2 separate regions of the Homo sapiens genome follow, and region 2 is linked to region 1. Evidence: promoter capture Hi-C in 16 types of primary human blood cells and fetal thymus (Javierre and others, 2016). All regions are on one chromosome and are shown on one strand. The core of a region is centred on a gene start or on the middle of the fragment in contact, and the rest is flanking DNA. Distances in the headings are between cores, read along the strand shown. Region 1 holds the start of IKZF5 (IKAROS family zinc finger 5). Region 2 holds the start of MGMT (O-6-methylguanine-DNA methyltransferase).

Region 1 (4,903 bases), core at 802-3,301:
GTGTTTACCCTCCATAGCCTAATAATTATGGTCACTGAGATTTACTCTGCTATAGAACACATATAAACAGACAACGTTGACAAATAAGGATTGGTTTCTATGGAGTAACATGGGCCTTCCAAAATAATTGGAACACAATTCCTGATTTCAGAACTGTCAAAAACTCTTGAAGGCAAAAAAAGAAATTATGAGGCTCTGAGAAATCAGAAATCAAAACATAAAAATAAAACATAAGTAAAACCATGTTGAAAGAAATCCAGAAGAGAAATTATACAATCTAACCTTTTCACCCCAAATCTGTTCCTCCTTTTTCTTGCCACTCCAACATTGATGAAATGTAGAGTAATTGAAATTTACTTCGGAGATACAGCAAGGGACTCCAAAAGGCCATGGAGAGAGAATTTCAACTAAAATTGAAAAGCCATACAGAGGTCTGCATAAAAAACAAACAGCACACCACAAATCAAAACCTTTAAGATAAAAACTTAATTAGCATCTACAGGTTGAATGAGCTAGTAACTTATGCCAATCTTATCATTACATTAGCTGAAAAGAAAACGAACTGACAGATTAATCAAAGAACAAAGCAGTAGCTTCACTTCAGCAAAAGCTCCATAGGATCACCAAAGAATAACTGGTGTGACTACCGTTTTCTCACTGGTGGATTAGTTTTTGGCAAGATTTTTAATGTCTAAATTTAAGTTAAACTTCAGTTTAAAGAAATTAAGATTAACTTCATTTAGTCACAGCACACTTCCAAAACGGTCAAGCTTAGTACTGCTGAACAGCTGTAGTTGCATAAAAACAACGCATAGTCCTAAGTAGGGAAATGGGAAAGGGCTTTAAATACAAAAACAAAAAAAACATGCACACCCGATAAGGGCACATCTGAATCCCATCCTTCTTATCCTATCATAACACAAAACAGCTACGGTTTTCTGGGAAACATCCTGGACCGCTAGGGGAAAATAACACCAGACATTTCAATTCACTGTAACGAACTCTCATCAATAATAATAACCTTTAGCTGTTGTGACAACACGACATAAATCAAAATTAAATTGAATTTTTAAAATTGTTAGTTCCTACGTTTAAAAAAAAGTTGTTTTAAATACATTCTGTTCTTTCAAAACTGAATTTCCTCAGATCACACAATTTAAGACGCCTTTATGTCTTCTTCCGCTTGTCACACGTCTTTCGGGTTCTGACCAGCACATCAAGGGGACTCTAAGCAGGCCACGTGGTTAGTGTTTGCTAGAACTTGTTTAGCTTCAGATCCAGTCATCGAGCATGCTAGGCTTGGCTACTCGCGCTCCACACAGTTTATCCAAAGATCTAAACCCCGAATGAACCTGAATAGTTATTTGCTACAATGTCTTTCTCAAATCTCACATGTTCCTAAAATAAGGGTGCCCATGCAGTAGAGACGGATCCGGGCAGGATCATTAGATAAAATACGAAGGCTTTAAACGTCCTTCTCCCAACAATCAGCCTGGGACCGGCGTCGGGGCAGCAGCCTCACCAAGATTCGGAGCGACATCCTCGCCAGGATTCGAAACACCTAGGAGACCCGCGCCCGGCTGACTCCCAGCCCCTGGGACCCCGTGAAGACGCAAACCTCGGGACGCCTCCCGCAGAACCACCTGTCAGAGCCAAGCAACAGTCCCCGCCCCGGAGCCTCCGAGCTCCTGCTCGAAGGCAATGACAGCAGGAGACCCCGCTCCCTCGGGGTTCTCGCGGCCATAGGCGCCGCAGTCCACTGCCCTCCGGCTAAAGAGGTCCCGGGCCATCACCTGCCCGCCTACCGACCACGCCCGACCCTCCACTGAACTGAGTCTCCGTCCGGATCAGCCGGCCCGCCACGAACCCAGCTCCAGTCTCCGGCCGCTCCTTCTTATCCGCCCTGTCCTGCCGCGTCGCCGCCGTCCGAGCCGGCAGCCTGCTACTTACCTCCTGACAACTGCATGGAGTAAACCACACCGCCTTGTTAAATGCCGTCGCCGCCGCCGCCGTCTTCGTCACCGTCACAGTCGCCGCCGCCATCTTTGTTGTGTCTCCGACTCCCTTCCCGCCCCCCTGCCTTGCTCAAGTCTCGCGTGAGCAGGATGGAGGGCGAAAGCGAGGAGGGGCCTGTTTGTCTCTCTTGGGGTTCCGTAGGCAGCAGGGGGCAGGGATTAAGGGGGGGTGTGTGCGGGGCGGGTACTGAGTGGGCGGGGCCTTGCTCGGGTAACTCCCAGGGGCTGGCTAGAGACCCAGAGGCGCAGAGCGGAGAGGCCTGCGGCGAGGATGGAGGGCCTGGCAGTGCGGTTGCTGCGCGGCAGCAGGCTGGTGAGTGCGTTCGAGGCTGGCGTCCTGGGGGCCCAGGGCGACCTTGGCCCCTGGAATCGCAGCTGGCAGAGCCTTCTAACGGGCCTCGGGGCGCCGGCCTGAGCCCCGCTCCACGTCCTGGGTCCCCAGACTCTTTACCCGCGGGCAGTCTATGACCCCGACCCCCTTCAGGCCTCTGGTGGAGGCAGCTGGTGGCAAGGGGGTCGGGGCTGTCTAGAAGCTGCTTTGGCGGAGCAAGTACCTTGAGTGGAGTCGGAGGGTCGCGTCCGCAAGATGTCCTTTGCAGGCCGTTGCGTCCTGAGAGCCACCGAGTCTGGATCTCTGGATCTCTGGATGCATTTTGCACAGATGTCACCTCCCTGATGCCCTAACGCACCTTTCCCGAGTGATTACATTTCACACCCCCTCCCCCAAAAAAGATAGTTAAAATATAGGCCCAGTCTCATTCTGAGCAGGTGTCTCCCTGTCCTTCCTTCCGCGGCCCCGCTCAAAGGTAGTAAGGGACTTCGGAGTTGTTCGGGCTTCCCGGCCAGGGACAGAGTTCCCTCTGCCCCTTATCTCATGTCTGGAGCCTGGGTATCTTCCGTGGATAGACTCACCGCCGCCCAGGGGAGCCGGAGCCGGTGCCGGTCCCTCTTCCATGAACTTAAGCTGAAACCAGCCTCTTGTTGTGCTTAATTCTTATCTGTGCACCCACACAAACTGTTAACAGCCCCTGTGTTAACATCCTATGCTCTTCACCCCTTGGACCTATTATATAGCATGCTTTTCAGAACATACACATTTGGATACACTTGTATTTGTCAGTACACTTCACTGGGAATTTTCCCACTGCTTACGTGTGCTTTTAATGTTTCCTTTGCATTTGCTTTAATGAGTTAGGCTTTCCAACTGCTGCTTCAGTCTTATGCCCAGAGGCAGAACTCTGACCCTTTTTCTTATTAGAGATAATTAATGTTATTTGACTGTTTTACAGGCCTGAAGTGCAATAAAAAACAGTAAGTGATTATTGTTTAATACTGTTTATAATTGTTGGTTAATAACTTAGCAAAGAAAATTTCTTTGGTTTTACAATTTGACTCTGTTTTAGAGCCAAAATTTATTGACCGCATACTCTGTGGTAGGCACGTTCTCGTTCTACCTGAGTCATCTCAATTCTCACAACCATCTTAACAAGTAGTTTAATCTTGCAGATGCTGAAAAAGAATAATAGCTTGCCCACAGATAGAAAGGGATAGAGCTGGTGGTATTCGAACTCTGGTCTGATTCTAAACTTAACCTTCATATACTACTGTCTCCCCGTCCTTAGAGATATCAAAAACCTATTTTGTTTGAACTTTTGGTTTATTGTGGCTTATAGTCCTTTATAGTTTTTGAAGCTCTTTTACATAAATTAGCTAAATTGATTGAACATCGACTGTAGCATAGTGGTTAAGAACGTAGGTTCTGTAGCTAGGCTGCTTGGATCTGAACCCAGGCCCTCTCACTTCCTAGTGGTATAACCTTGGACAGGTTATGCTTTGGGTCTCAGTTTCCTGGTCTGTAAATGGAGAGAATAATTGTGCGTATTCCAAAATTGTTGTGAAAATTAAATGAGCTCATATGTTCATGTAAGGCACTTAGAATAGTGCTCGGAATGTAGTCAGCTCTCGGTAAATATCAGCTCTTACTGCCATGCACGAAGCATTGTGTGCTATGCCAGATGTAATAATGAATAAAATACTCTACCTCCAAGAAGTTTATCTTTTAGAGGAAAGGTTAGAACTATGTGCAACTAACCCCATGTCATGTAGGTGTGGAACAAATCCTAAGGGGCTACAGTCTGCGTGCAGATTCAGAAGATAGAAATGACTAGGACCATTGGGGAAGTGATAGGCTCTTTGGAAGCTGGGTTAGAGTTTAGGAGGGGAAAGGAGTGGTCAGAAAACTGCAACAAAAGGGGACTGAGGCCACTTTAGGGAATTGGGGGTTGATCCTTTTGGATTGTTAGGAGCCATTGAAGGTCAAGAGCTTTGGAGTTTCCTCATGCCACAGTGTAGGTAGATGGCTGTGGACACAAGTGGCATGGAGTGGGGAGAAATGCAAGGTAGGGCTAATTTTGGTTTCTATCCAGAGGCAAATGGAAAGCTAGCATTTACTCACTTATTGTAGACCAGGGACAGCATTTTACACCCACTACCCTATTTACTCTTCCTGTAAACCTCTGAAGTAGGTATATTAGTGGCTTCATCTTGCAAATGAGGAACTCGGAGGCAATAACCAGTGTTCCCAAGTCACATAACAATCAGATTGCAATGCTGACCTTCAGCCTACCCCTGCCTTCTCAGAAGGTCTCTCCTAGTCCTGCAGATGGATTAGAACTGTCCTGCCCATTTGGTCTAAGCAACCCAATTAGTGGAGAATTGGACCTTGTAGTTAACCTGTGGTTCCAAAGCATTTTAATGTAGCTTGATATCTTTTTTTTTTTTTTTTTGAGACGGAGTCTTACTCTGTCGCCCAGGTTGGAGTGCTGTGGTGCGATCTCAGTTCACTGTAACCTATGCCACCCGGATTCGAGCGATTCTCCTGCCTCAGC
Region 2 (4,903 bases), core at 1,546-4,045, 6.5 Mb after region 1:
ACACTTGTTAGAATATCAGTCGGCACTCTGATTCCATTTCGGCATTGTTTTTCCTTTGGTTCTATTAAGATCCCGGTTCTAACTGGGTCCTGGTAGTAACAGGCTGTAAGTGGCCAGGTGTATAGCATTATTTCTTAGTAGTGTGGTGTGGTGCTGGTGGTTTATTTTCCCTATGCACACATGCCCTAATATGGAAGGATAGTTTGTACACACGTAGGGTACGTTATCATGAGACTCCTTTACAGAGTATGAAACTGAGGATTAGAGAAGTCAGACGAGTTTCCCGAAGTCTTATAGAAGGCTAATGGAAAAAACCAGAGCCAAGGGCAAACATGTTTCATCTGTCCTTCCACATTAGTTTAAATGTGAATGGCTGCTTGGAACACAGTGTTGAGAAGGATTCCGAGGCTGTGTCCAGGTTCAGTGGGGAAAAAGTGCCTTGATTTGACCATTATATCGTGTACTCAGGGCCTAGTTTATTTCCCACAAGCAGCTATTTAAAACATGTCTCATCCAAGGCAGGGTCGGGGTGGGGAACCTCAGAGGATCAATGATGCAGCCTGTATTGTCACCAGGGCTCATCCCAAAGCAAATCCTGCTGAAGTTCTCCTCTGAACAACCCTTATCACTCATGCTAATATGTTGGATCCTGCAAGTCACAAATACGAAGGTATGAGCATTGGCCGAATCCCAACAGGGAAACTTCACCGGGAAGGTGAAGACCCCTTTCCATTAAGATAACAAACAGAACCTAGAAGGCCCGTAGCATGGTGGCTTAGAACATGTGGGCCTTGGATGGGATCCTGCCAAGGGGTGTGTGACCTCTCCGAAGCCTCCAGGGATGATACTACTCCCTGGGGTGCTTATGCCAACCACGTTAGAGACAATGGTTTCTGTACCCATTGCCTGGGGCTGCCATAATAAAGTGCCACACACTGAGTGGCTTAAAACAACAGAAACCTATTGTCTCACACTTCCGGGGGCCAGAAGTTTGAAACCCAGGTGTGTTAGGATCCTGCTCCCTCTGAAGGCTCCAGGGAAGAGTGTCCTCTGCTCCCTCCGAAGGCTCCAGGGAAGGGTCTGTCCTCTTAGGCTTCTGGTGGCTTGCAGGTGCAGCCCTCCAATCCTCCTCCCCAAGCGGCCTTCTGCCTATAAGGACACGAGTCATACTGGATGAGGGGCCCACTAATTGATGGCTTCTGTAAAGTCCCCATCTCCAAATAAGGTCACATTGTGAGGTACTGGGAGTTAGGACTCCAACATAGCTTCTCTGGTGGACACAATTCAACTCCTAATAACGTCCACACAACCCCAAGCAGGGCCTGGCACCCTGTGTGCTCTCTGGAGAGCGGCTGAGTCAGGCTCTGGCAGTGTCTAGGCCATCGGTGACTGCAGCCCCTGGACGGCATCGCCCACCACAGGCCCTGGAGGCTGCCCCCACGGCCCCCTGACAGGGTCTCTGCTGGTCTGGGGGTCCCTGACTAGGGGAGCGGCACCAGGAGGGGAGAGACTCGCGCTCCGGGCTCAGCGTAGCCGCCCCGAGCAGGACCGGGATTCTCACTAAGCGGGCGCCGTCCTACGACCCCCGCGCGCTTTCAGGACCACTCGGGCACGTGGCAGGTCGCTTGCACGCCCGCGGACTATCCCTGTGACAGGAAAAGGTACGGGCCATTTGGCAAACTAAGGCACAGAGCCTCAGGCGGAAGCTGGGAAGGCGCCGCCCGGCTTGTACCGGCCGAAGGGCCATCCGGGTCAGGCGCACAGGGCAGCGGCGCTGCCGGAGGACCAGGGCCGGCGTGCCGGCGTCCAGCGAGGATGCGCAGACTGCCTCAGGCCCGGCGCCGCCGCACAGGGCATGCGCCGACCCGGTCGGGCGGGAACACCCCGCCCCTCCCGGGCTCCGCCCCAGCTCCGCCCCCGCGCGCCCCGGCCCCGCCCCCGCGCGCTCTCTTGCTTTTCTCAGGTCCTCGGCTCCGCCCCGCTCTAGACCCCGCCCCACGCCGCCATCCCCGTGCCCCTCGGCCCCGCCCCCGCGCCCCGGATATGCTGGGACAGCCCGCGCCCCTAGAACGCTTTGCGTCCCGACGCCCGCAGGTCCTCGCGGTGCGCACCGTTTGCGACTTGGTGAGTGTCTGGGTCGCCTCGCTCCCGGAAGAGTGCGGAGCTCTCCCTCGGGACGGTGGCAGCCTCGAGTGGTCCTGCAGGCGCCCTCACTTCGCCGTCGGGTGTGGGGCCGCCCTGACCCCCACCCATCCCGGGCGAGCTCCAGGTGCGCCCCAAGTGCCTCCCAGGTGTTGCCCAGCCTTTCCCCGGGCCTGGGGTTCCTGGACTAGGCTGCGCTGCAGTGACTGTGGACTGGCGTGTGGCGGGGGTCGTGGCAGCCCCTGCCTTACCTCTAGGTGCCAGCCCCAGGCCCGGGCCCCGGGTTCTTCCTACCCTTCCATGCTGCCAGCTTTCCCTCCGCCAGCTGCTCCAGGAAGCTTCCAGAAGCCCCTGCGCGGGCCTTGGCTTGCAGCAACCCTTTAGCATACTTAGGCAGAGTCCCATATTTCCTTCCTGCTGGAGGCCAAGTTCTAGGGGCCTTCTGGTTACTATGGCTGGTGTTTGTGTACATCATACCCTAACTGTATTCATCAACACTTAGAGTAAGCAAGGCTCGCTGGAGAGCCACACACACTGGGCACCGTAATGTCGGTTATAACACCGCAGAGGAGTTCTGAACTATGTATTTCGCACTCCTGGGTTCATCATCTCCTGAAATCTCAGGGTGGTGTTTGCTCTCAGTTGCTTCAGCTGAGTAGCTGGCTTTCTGTCCTGGAAAGCAGACTTTGTACATGTGTGTGCAACCTATGCCTGCTGAGATCATCATCAGACAGGGAAGCGGCTTGGTCCAGAGAGCTGTTCTCAGTAGAATGTTAAGCACAGAGAGCTGAGAATTAGACTGGTTATTTACATAGACATCCAAATAGAAACCTATAGAGTATCTGTTAAGTCAGGCTCTCCCGTCATCTCCCCCATCCCTGGGCAGGTGTCTAGGAGATGGTTTTGTTATTTTCAGGGCCCTCTCAATGGCTAAAACACTCTGGGAGATGAACAAGATTTTAAAAACCCAAAGCTTAGCGCACCTGGTGGGTGGGGGTGTGAAAACTTTGAAGGAAACCGCGTCAAGAGCCTGGCTGATTGTTAATATCACGTTAACTCAGAGGGCCAGGATACTTGCCCAGACCCGGAGTCTGCCTGCAAGTAGCAGAGGAGAGCTGGCCTTGCTCTGCCGCGTGTCTTTCTTCCTGGGCCCTCTGTCTCGGGTTGGAATTTGAATAGTGGAGTAGTGTCTGCCACAGTCAGGGGCCTGGATGAAGTAGACCACCAGTACGGAGCTATACTCAGGTACTTTTCAATGTATATATCTTCATTAAAAAAAAAAAATCTGGGCCAGGCACAGTGGGTCACGCCTGTAATCTCAGCACTTTGGGAGGCCGAGGTGGGTGGATCACCTGAAGTCAGGAGTTTGAGACCAGCCTGGCCAACATGGTGAAACCCAGTTTCTACTAAAAACACAAAAATTATCCAGGCGTGGTGGTGCATGCTGGTAATCCCAGTTACTTGGGAGACTGAGGCAGGAGAATTGCTTGAACCTGGGAGGCGGAGGTTGCAGTGAGCCGAGATTGCGCCATTGCACTCCAACCTGGGCGACGAGAGTGAAACTGTCCTGAAGGGGAAACAAAAAAATCTGTATCAAAATAAGGATTTAACTAATAGTATTAGGCACTACTTTAAAAAGGCTTTGCTGTTAGTAAGGTTGAAAGAAATAGAGCCCTAGGTATACATTGGGTAGCACCTTGTTCAGCTGCTCAGATTCTTGAACCTTGTTGAGGTCTTACTTTGATATCACCTGGGCCTTACTTTTCGTTGTTTGGGTTTCCTCCCCAGGTGTCTCAATCAGGGCCTCCTCTGTCCTTTTGCAGGGAAGAAGGGGGTAGGAAGGGCCTGAAAAAGAACTTGCCTTCCCCATTGCCCCCTCAGAGTTTGTTCCTCTCCAGTCCTCTTCCCACCCTTTCTTAGGACACCAAAACCCTGACTCTTTCAGTATTTTATAATAAAATAAAGTTACTAAATTGTCTGTTCTGTTTTGCAGAGGACACACATTTAGGAGCCAGTGATTCAGACCTTCCATTTTTCTTTTTGGTGCTAATGCTCTTTTCAGTATATTCTCTTTGATAGAAAAAAAATGGAGGCAAAACTGAATTTTCTGCATTATCTTTTCCTTTAGCATTATTCTTGTTTCTGCACTTCATTCTGACCCCCTTCCCCAGCATAAAGTTCCATGTCCAGATCCACTTGCCCTGAGATTTTTGACTTCCGTTTGGGACTCTAGTCCCTCCAGGGGACACATTGAGCCTCCCAGACCCTGCAGGGCCCTGTGCTCATTCGGCTCTTGGGCTGTTGCTACGGTCCTTCCTGACCCTCTGTTTCCTGGGACAAGTAGTTTTTAATGCAGCTACTTTCTGAAAGAGCTGGGGTCTTACCGCAGAATATTATTTTATTATTTTTAGAGACAAGGTCTTGGTCTTTCGCCCAGGCTGGAGTGCAGTGGTGAGATCATAGCTCCCTGCAGCCTCAAGCTCCTGGGCTCAAGCGAACCTCCTGCTTTGACCTCCCAAGTACCAGGGACTACAGGTGTGCGCCACCATACCTGGCTAATTGTTGTTGTTGTTGTTTTTAGAGGCCAGGGTCTCCGTATGTTGCCTAGGGTGGTCTCGAACTCCTGGACTCAAGTGATCTTCCCTCCTAGGCCTCCCAAAGTGCTGGAATTATAGGCATGAGCCACCATGCCTGGCCTCGCAGGATATTATTTAAACGAAACCTGAAGGATTTAAAATCAGAGAAGACACATAAACCATCA

Evidence for each region. Contacts are between HindIII fragments. The CHiCAGO score rates a contact against its expected background, and 5 or more counts as called.
Region 2: a fragment that was not itself captured here is called in contact with the fragment with the promoter of IKZF5 in region 1 in 1 of 17 cell types (monocytes); the score reaches 7.2 in monocytes.

Annotation. Positions count from the first base shown.
Region 1 is chr10:123,006,744-123,011,646 of GRCh38, forward strand. It overlaps IKZF5 (IKAROS family zinc finger 5), which reads right to left and starts at 2,052. Exons shown (of 5, transcript NM_001372123.1): 1 at 1,951-2,052; 2 at 283-433. It overlaps ACADSB (acyl-CoA dehydrogenase short/branched chain), which reads left to right and starts at 2,263. Exons shown (of 11, transcript NM_001609.4): 1 at 2,263-2,328. The coding sequence starts at 2,287. RefSeq lists enhancers at 1,329-1,558, 1,839-2,168. The HindIII fragment of the contact is 4,856 bases long and covers 769-4,903 here.
Region 2 is chr10:129,465,173-129,470,075 of GRCh38, forward strand. MGMT (O-6-methylguanine-DNA methyltransferase) reads left to right here and starts at 2,069. Exons shown (of 5, transcript NM_002412.5): 1 at 2,069-2,124. RefSeq lists silencers at 1,709-2,148, 2,169-2,368 and an enhancer at 1,935-2,857. The HindIII fragment of the contact is 635 bases long and covers 2,479-3,113 here.